Regions from separate parts of the Homo sapiens genome. Here regions 1 and 2 are each linked to region 3. The links are contacts of gene promoters, found by promoter capture Hi-C in human tissues and cell types (Jung and others, 2019). All regions are on one chromosome and are shown on one strand. The core of a region is centred on a gene start or on the middle of the fragment in contact, and the rest is flanking DNA. Distances in the headings are between cores, read along the strand shown.

Region 1 (2,915 bases), core at 263-2,762, 120 kb before region 3:
GTCACCTCAGGCTCCAGAGAGATTTCTGTGATATTAAAACGGGGAGGAGCCTGCCTAGGAAACCAGTGACTTTTCTCTACCCACATTCCCTTGTGCTCCACCACCTGGAGGCCTCCTTGGCCTCCATGCCCAGCAGCCCGTGAACTCACTTCCTCACAACATCTTTGGCCATCTCTGAGATCTGACTCCACTCTTCCTCTGGGAACTCAAAACTGCCTGTCATGATCTTTCTTCGCATATCCTTTGGGATAGTCCGGCTGTGGTGTTTGGAGTAAAAAGGAGGGTATCCGCACAGCATCACATAGATAATCACCCCTAGGGACCACAAGTCACAGCTCTGAAAGCAAAAAAGAAAATGGTCACTCACAGCAGAAGCAGAGCCCCCAAATAAACACCCCATGACAGGCTCAGGAATAGCCCCTGCAATATATAGGCTGATATAAACTAGAGTCACTTAACAGAGACTAGGAAAGCTGAAGGAAGTCTTAGGAGAACTAGTCTTTATCTCCATATTTTCTTTCTTTCTTTTTTTTTCTTTGAGACAGAGTCTTGCTCTGTTGCCCAGGCTGGAGTGCAGTGGCGTAATCTCAGCTCACTGCAACCTCCGCCTCCCAGGTTCAAGCAATTCCTCCTGCCTCAGCCTCCTGAGTAGCTGGGATTACAGGCATGTGCCACCATGCCGCCTGGCTAATTTTTGTATTTTTTTTTTAGTAGAGATAGGCTTTCACCATGTTGGTCAGGTTGGTCTCGAACTCCTGACCTCGTGATCTGCCCGCCTTGGCCTCCCAAAGTGCTGGGATTACAGGCGTGACTCACCACACCTGGCCTCTCTCCATATTTTCAATAAGCTGCCAATACTACATACATGCATCCCATCATACAAAGCCAGTCTGGGATAAAATGTACAGGTACTTTCATTCTCACTCTTTAGGCCCAAGCACCTATCTGATCCCTGTGTACAGGTATAGGATGCTTTGCCCCAGCCAGAAAAGAAATAAATATAAACCAGCTGGTTGTGAAACCTCTATGTAGAAACAAAGCAACTAAGAGACAGGTAGGCTCACCTACAGTACAGCACAGGCCACTTCATAAAGGCCCAAAGCAGTTTGACACAGATCATGGAGAGGACTGGAGGGAAGAACAGAAGGTCTAAATGCATTCCTTTGACCATGAAGGACTCACTAGGTCCATTTGCAAGCTCTTACACCATTCTGGGGGAAGATACTGTGAAAAAAAGAAAACTGCTACCAACTACCATGTCTGCAGGTAGTAAGGTGACTCCATGGCCTATATCACTGCATAAAGGACTCCTATTTTAGTTAAATGCAGCTCCATTTGCTTTGAAAACTGGGTTTGCAGAGGCTTCAATTCAAGCCTTTCTTGAACAGCGAGATAAAAGAGGTGCCTGCCTAAGATGGCAGCCCCGTGAGCCTGCCACTGGGGCCCCACACTCCCCCTCACACCACAGCTGTGCGGTGCTCTGCATAAAGGCTGAATAATGGGGTGTCTCAGGTACTCTCGCCTGTATTTTCTTTTTTTGAGACGGAGTCTCACTCTGTCGCCAGGTTGGAGTGCAGTGGCGCGATCTCAGCTCACTGCAACCACTGCCTCCTGGGTTCAAGCGATTCTCATGCCTCAGTCTCCCAAGCAGCTGGGACTACAGGCGCCCGCCACCACACCCGGCTAATTTTTTGTATTTTTAGTAGAGACGGGGTTTCACCACAGTGGCCAGGATGGTCTCGATCTCCTGACCTCGTGATCCGCCCACCTCGGCCTCCCAAAGTGCTGGGATTACAGGCGTGAGCCACTGCGCCAGGCCTGCCCATGTTTTCACATTATACTAGTAGATATTTGTGGATGACACAGCCCATGCTGTAGAACAGAATCACAGAATAAAATTACAGGGGTGGAAAGGGACCTTCAATCCCTCACTTTCCAGAAAGGGAACTAATACTGCAGAGATCATGTCATCTCTCAGGTCCTCTGTCAAGAGTGAAACCAAGTGACCTCACCAATGTTACACAGATTAAGAGTAGTGGAGCCACAGCAAGTGTCCCAGCCTACTGCCTTTTTACCATTCTCAGCCCCTTCTGTCATCTATATCTAGCCTCAAGTCCCCAAGTAGCATCTTTTTTCTGATCTACTTACTCAGTGACTCCAGGGCCTATTTCTAGAGGCCCTAAACCTCTTGTGCTTTAGAACAGATAGGATCGGCTGGGCACGGTGGCTCACGCCTGTAATCCCAGCTCTTTGTGAGGCCGAGGCGAGTGGATCACCTGAGGTCAGGAATTCAGGACCAACCTGGCCAACATGGTGAATCCTCATCTCTCCTAAAAATACAAAACATTAGCCAGGCGTGGTGGCAGGCGCCTGTAATCCCAGCTACTTGGGAGGCTGAGGCAAGAGAATTGCTTGAACCCGGGAGGCGGAGGTTGCAGTGAGCCGAGATTGTGCCACTGCACTCCAGCCTGGGCGACAGGGTAAGACTCTGTCTCAAAAAAAAAAAAAAAAAAAGGAACAGACAGGATCAATATGTGGGCTACAGGCTGGGTGCGGTGGCTCACGCCTGTAATCCCAGCACTTTGGGAGGCCGAGGCGGGCGGATCACTTGAGGTCAGGAGTTTGAGATCAGCTTGGCCAACATGGAGAAACCCCGACTCTACTAAAAATACAAAAATTAGCTGAGTGTGGTGGCATGCACCCATCATCTCAGCTACCTGGGAGACTGAGGCAGGAGAATCGTTTGAGCACAGGAGGTGGAGGTTGCAGTGAGCTGAGATCACACCACTGTACTCCAGCCTGGGCGACAGAGCGAGACTCTGTCTCAAAAAAACAACAAAAAAAATGTGGGCTACAGATTAAGAACCGTAATATTACCAAGTAACACTTAGGAGCCCTTGCTATGTGTATCAGAT
Region 2 (2,896 bases), core at 360-2,859, 70 kb after region 3:
GTGTGGTGGTGCACACCTGTAGTCCCAGCTACTCGAGAGGCTGAGGAAGGAGAATAGCTTGAACCAGGGAGACAGAGGTTACAGTGAGCCGAGATCACAGCACTGCACTCTAGCCTGGGTGACAGAGTGAGACTCCGACTCAAAAAAAAAAAAAGGGCGCAACCTCAGTTGCAATCAGGCAAATGTGAGACTCCGACTCAAAAAAAAAAAAAAAAGGCGCAACCTCAGTTGCAATCAGGCAAATGAACATTAAAATAACAGGAAAAAAAAGGCCAGGCCCAGTGGCTTACACCTATAATCCCAGCACTTTGGGAGGCCAAGGCGGGCGGACCACCAGATCAGGAGATTGAGATCATCCTGGCTAACACAGTGAAACCTGTCTCTAATAAAAATACAAAAAATTAGCAGGGCGTGGTGGTGGATGCCTGCAGTCCCAGCTACTTCGGGAGGCTGAGGCAGGAGAATGGTGTGAACCCGGGAGGCGAAGTTTGCAGTGAGCTGAGATAGCATCACTGTACTCCAACCTGGGCGACAGAGCAAGACTCTGTCTCAAAAAAAAAAAAAAAAAAGAGAGAGACCAACCTGGTCAACATGGCGAAACCCTGTCTCTACTGAAAATACAAAAATTAGCCAAGCATGGTGGCACACACCTGTAATACCAGCTACTTGGGAGGCTGAGGCACGAGAATTGCTTGAACCCGGGAGATGGAGGTTGCAGTGAGCCAAGATCACGCCACTGCACTTTAGCCTGGGCAATGGAATGATGCTCTGTCTCAAAAAAAAAAAAAAAAGGAAAAGAAAAGAAACCACAAAGATGGAATTTTCATCTATCACACTAACAAAAATTTTAAAGTCAAACATTTTGAAGTTTCGAAATCATTATACCCTCTGAATTCAATTTTTTTTTTCTCCCAAGACGGAGTCTTGATCTGTCACCCAGGCTGGAGTGCAGTGGTGCTATCTTGGCTCACTGCAACCTCTGCCTCCCGAGTTCCAGCAATTCTCCTGCCTCAGTCTCCCGAGTATCTGGGATTACAGGCATGGACTACCATGCCCAATTTTTTTTTTTTTTTGAGACGGAGTCTCGCTGTATCGCCCAGGTTGGAGTGCAGTGGTGCCATCTAGGCTCACTGCAAGCTCTGCCTCCTGGGTGCACGCCATTCTCCTGCCTCAGCCTCCCAAGTAGCTGGGACCACAGGCACCTGCCACCACGCCTGGCTAATTTTTTGTATTTTTAGTAGAGACGGGGTTTCACCACGTTAGCCAAGATGGTTTCAATCTCCTGACCTCGTGATCCACCTGCCTTGGCCTCCCAAACTGCTGGGATTACAGGCGTGAGCTACTGTGCCCGGCCTAAATTCAATCTTAAAGTGTTTGAGCTTTGGTCTGAAAATGCATTCTTGGAGAAAAATAAAGTAAAATAAAAAATAAAAAAACTAAAATGTTTGGGCTATACTTTGAATTCTTTGTTGTGCGTACTAATTTTATAGTAAACTAACAGCTTAAATCAAGCTTTTCTGAAAAGGGCCAGATGGTAAATATTTTAGGCTTTGAAAGCATTACGGACCCTGTTGAAATTACTCAACTCTGCCAGTACAGGGTAAAAGCAGTCATGGACAATATGTAAACAAATGGGCAAGATGGTTTTCTAAAAAATTTCATTTTTATGGACATTGAAATATGAACTTCACATAATTTTCACATGTCACAAAATATTATTCTTGTTTTGATATTTTTCAATTACGTATTTCAAAACATAAAAGTCATTCTTGGCTGACAGGCCATACAAAAACAGACAGCAGGTGAGGCATGGTAACTCACACCTGTAATTCCAATGACTCAAGAGGCCAAGGCAGGAGGATCACTTGAGCCCGGGAGTTCGACACTAGCTTGAGAAACATAGCAAGACCCCATCTCTATAAAAAACAAAAATTAGGCATAGTGGCAAACACCTGTAGTCCCAGCTACTTGGGAGCCTGAGGCAGGATTGCTTGAGCCCAGGAGTTTCAGGCTGCAGTGAGCCATGATTGTACCACTGCACTCCAGCCTAAGAAACAGAGCGCGATCCCATCTCAAGAAAAAAAAAAATAGTATAGTACAGTAATTCTAGTGTATATATATATATACTTTTTTTTTTTTTGAGACAGAGTCTTGCTCTGTCTCCCAAGCTGCAGCGCAATGGTATGATCTCAGCTCACTGCAACCTCTGTTTCCCGGGTTCAAGTGGTTCTCCCTGCTCAGCCTCCAGAGTAGCTGCAATTTCAGGTGCCCATCACCATGCCCCGCTTATTTTTGAATTTTTAGTAGAGATTGGATTTTGCCATGTTGGCCAGGCTGGTCTCAAACTCATGACCTCAAGTGATCCGCCCATCTCGTCCTCCCAAAGTGCTGAGATTAAAGGCATGAGCCACCGCACCTGGCCAATTCTAGTATATTCTTATCAAATGACCCTTGATATGGTTCATTTGAAATAAATAACATTAGAAGCTCCAGTCAAGCAAAAGACAAAGTAGAAGGCATCACTATTTTGTTCACATTTACCCATCAAACATTTCCTGAATGACTGAGCCAGCCTGCAGAGCTAACACTGCAACAGTGAAGTGAAGAAATCCCAGACCTGGGGTCCTGGAATCCAAGAGCCCCATAGAGGAGACATGAACATATCCCACTGCAAACAAAAATATCTCGGTGAAGGTGAAACTTAATGGGAATTGGCTATCCAGGAACATTCTGCCCAGGTTGCAAATGAGGTTGGAGAAGTCTTGACAGAAGAGGACTCTTGAAGTTAGTAACAACCATGAGATTTACTGAGTGTTCAAAAGATTCCAGTCATTGCTGAATAATATCCCCTTAAATTTGCCATTAAAAGCATCAGTAGGATTTGAACAGGCAGAGG
Region 3 (3,316 bases), core at 484-2,983:
GGTCTTGCTATGTTGCCCAGGCTGGTCTCGAAATCCTAGGCTCAACGGATCATCCCACCTCGGCCTCCCAAAATGCTGGGATTTACAGGCATGAGCTACTGCACCTGGCCTCTGCTAGATCTTTTGATGCTCAAGTCTTCCAAGCATGAACTTGCACAGGCTGCCAAGGGAGCCATAGCTGCTGCCTTTTTAGCTTGTGTTATGCAAAAGATTTTATTTTATCCTTTTAAAAATTCCCTTGCAAATGACCTTTGTAACATCCCCTAAAATCACACGCATGTGCCTTTACCCATCACCTATATCCAGATTTGCAGCCACACTCAGGGCCAGACCAGCAGGTGTGCTGTTGAAAGCAGCTGGCTAGGAGCCAGCTCTACAGCATCCCAAATCAGCAATAGTCCCAGAGGATCGGTGGTCCCTTTGTTCCCACCCAGAGTCACAACATACCATGGAATGTTCTGGTTAGGGGCTTACTCCTGGAAGTTCAGCTGTGAACCCCAACTATGCCACTGACTTTGGTCTTTAGGTGAGTCACTAAACCTCTTTGTGACTCAGTCTCTTCATCTGTAAAATGGAGAATTACAGTCCCTTCCTACTGAGGCTGTTGTAAAAATTACCTTAAATTGCAAAACAGGTAGACGCTTAGAACAGTGCTGCACAAAGGCTGTGCAGACAGGACAGGAGCTGTGATTAACTATGAAGTGACTGGTTGATGAGGGCCTGTGTGAACCTAACCCTCAGAGCGCCTTTCCATTTATAGGAGAAAAAGCTTAAGTCAGAGAAGGCAGCCAACATGCACTGGCACAAACAAAACAAACTCTTTCATAACCAATTTCAGCCTCTGTGAAGTCTAGAACTTTAACCAAACTCAAAGATCAAAACAAAAAATATTCCAAAGTATTACTGATTGAGCAATCAATAAATGGACCACAGGAATCAGTTTTATCCTGGAAAGCTCCTCCTTGGTTTGGTCGAAGCCGGCGTTGGAAGCCGCAGACACCCCTTGGGGTCGGCCCCCTGGGGCCGAAGGTCCTCCAGGATTCCCTACTCCCAGCAATGGAAGCAGCCGAGCGTGGCCTCGCCCATGGTGAACTGGAGAACGTGGCTGCAAATCACCTCTTTCCTGGTTTTTCCTTTTGAACTCCTTGGATGAGGGCATGAGTCAGGGGGTAAAGGGGATGACTAAGGAAAAGACAGGAAAGTTCCTGCAAAGAGGGACTTGGTCGCGTCTTCTGAGTGGGTGAGGGTGGGGACCCTGCGGAGACCCGAAAGCAAGGACCATGGGGAGAACGGAACCCCGAGAGTTGGCCCTGGAAAACAGACCGAGGCTGGGCGAAGACGGAGAGGGGGCCCAAGTCACGGGGAAATGGGACGGGGACTGTCAGAGGCGGCGAAGGGGCTAAAATGCTTGCAGGAGAGGAGGGGGCAGATGTGCTTCCAGGTCAGCCTCTGCAAACCCCTCGAGCCCCAGATGAGTACACTAAGGCCCACGGCGGCGCGGGGCCTTCCTAGGGGCCTGCGGGGGACTCGGGCCGGAAAACAAAGCGCGAGCCCGGCCGGTGGGCTCACCTGGTTGCAGAAGACCTCGGGCTGCTGGTTGGGGGCAGGCACGGCCTGGGTGGCGGCGGCTGACAAGAGGCGGCGGCCCAGGCGGGGCCCGAAGCGGGCGGCAGCGCGCAACATCGCAGCGGGCTAGCGGACAGCGAGCGGACCGAGAGCAGAGCTAGGGTCTCAGGGCCACTGAGCCGACCCCGCTCCCCGCCCCGCGCGGCAGCCAATGGAAAGGCGGGGGCGGGCCGGGGGCGGGGCTGCCTCTACCATTCCTCGGGATGGGGCGCGCAGCTGATGCAAGCGAAGCGGGTGGCGCTAGGTACCCCCGGCCCGTGGCTGCCCCCTGGCTCGCGCGACGCCTCCGCGCCCGCCACCGCCCTCCGCCTGTGCGGAAAGACCCGGCCCCGCGAACGCAGCTCGCCTTGGTTGAGCCCCCAATGTGTGCCTTTGACCCCAATGTGAACAGGCCCGAGCCAGGGCGACCCTGACCTTCCCGGCTGATGCTCCAGGTGAAGAGACCGGCCGTAAACCCAAAAGCGAGATCATTTCGGAGGTGAAGGAGATGAACGAGGTGACATGGATGGGGCAGACGGCACTGCTTTTATAAGTACCATGGTCAGGAAATGACAAGTGAGACCTGAATGATGACAGGGAACAGCAAGGGCAAAGGCCAGGAGATGAGACCACCTGGCACGTGTTAGAGAAATGGAAAGAATGAATGGAGCCCAGTTAACAAGGAGAGAGGCGGCCAGGGCAAGGGCAGGGACGGTCTTGGAAGCAGCGGTTCAGAGTTTAGAACAGGATGATTTGCATGATTTGCTTATTCTTTTTTTTTTTTTTTTTTTTGAGACGGAGTCTCACTGTGTCGCCTAGGCTGGAGTGCAGTGGCACGATCTCGGCTCACTGCAAGCTCTGCCTCCCGGGTTCACACCAGTCTCCTGCCTCCGCCTCCGGAGTAGCTGGGACCACAGGCGCCTGCCACCACGCCCGGCTAATTTTTTGTATTTTCAGTAGAGACGGGGTTTCACCGTGTTAGCCAGGATGGTCTCGATCTCCTCACCTCATGATCCGCCTGCCTCGGCCTCCCAAAGTGCTGGGATTACAGGCGTGAGCCACCGCGCCCGGCGGTGGGACTCTGATTTCAACACCAGATTCCACCAAAGTCGCCCTGGGGGCTCAGCACCATTCCACACAAACCAGAGGAAGAAAAGGCATGGGGGTGGCCCATGGGAGGTTTCTGTGGGCTGAGCCTGCTCGCCTGGCTGGATTTCAATCACACAACCATGCCTCCATGCAAAAGAGTCTGGGAAATGAGTGGCCCCTGTGCCAGGAAGAAGGGAAATAGGTTTGGAGATCAGCTGCAGAGATAATCTGATAACCAAGACTCCCTTCCTTCTCTGAATTCAGCCATGCAGGCCCCACTTCCCCTTCCCAATGGCGCCTTGCTTTTTTTTTTTAGATGGGGTTTCACTCTTGTTGCCCAGGCTGGCACCATGTGGGCTCACTGCAACTTCCACCTCCCAGGTTCTAGCGATTCTCCTGTCTCAGCCTCCCAAGTGGCTGGGATTACAGGCGCATGCCACCACACTTGGTTAATTTTTGTATTTTTAGTAGAGATGGGGTTTCATCATATTGGTCAAGCTGGTCTCGAACTCCTGACCTTAGGTGATCCGCCCACCTCGGCCTCCCAAAGTTCTGGGATTACAGGCATGAGCCACCGTGCCAGGTACTTTTTTTCCCTTAATACTGTGTGTGGAGATCGTTT

What was found. Contacts are between HindIII fragments. The study calls those that stand out against the background at their distance.
Region 1: a contact is called between a fragment that was not itself captured here and the fragment with the promoter of ALDH2 in region 3, in 2 of the 25 tissues and cell types used here (aorta and bladder).
Region 2: a contact is called between a fragment that was not itself captured here and the fragment with the promoter of ALDH2 in region 3, in 3 of the 25 tissues and cell types used here (IMR-90 fibroblasts, hippocampus and mesendoderm cells).

Annotation. Positions count from the first base shown.
Region 1 is chr12:111,881,003-111,883,917 of GRCh38, reverse strand. It overlaps MAPKAPK5 (MAPK activated protein kinase 5), which reads right to left. Exons shown (of 14, transcript NM_003668.4): 9 at 150-337. Among named protein-coding and RNA genes, the nearest start is that of MAPKAPK5-AS1, 39 kb to the right of the region's middle. The HindIII fragment of the contact is 4,003 bases long and covers 1-2,915 here.
Region 2 is chr12:111,695,258-111,698,153 of GRCh38, reverse strand. All of the region lies in intron 2 of ACAD10 (acyl-CoA dehydrogenase family member 10), which reads right to left. Among named protein-coding and RNA genes, the nearest start is that of ACAD10, 11 kb to the right of the region's middle. The HindIII fragment of the contact is 6,900 bases long and covers 1-2,896 here.
Region 3 is chr12:111,765,350-111,768,665 of GRCh38, reverse strand. ALDH2 (aldehyde dehydrogenase 2 family member) reads right to left here and starts at 1,733. Exons shown (of 13, transcript NM_000690.4): 1 at 1,570-1,733. The coding sequence starts at 1,683. RefSeq lists a silencer at 1,726-2,045 and an enhancer at 1,505-2,274. The HindIII fragment of the contact is 11,183 bases long and covers 1-3,316 here.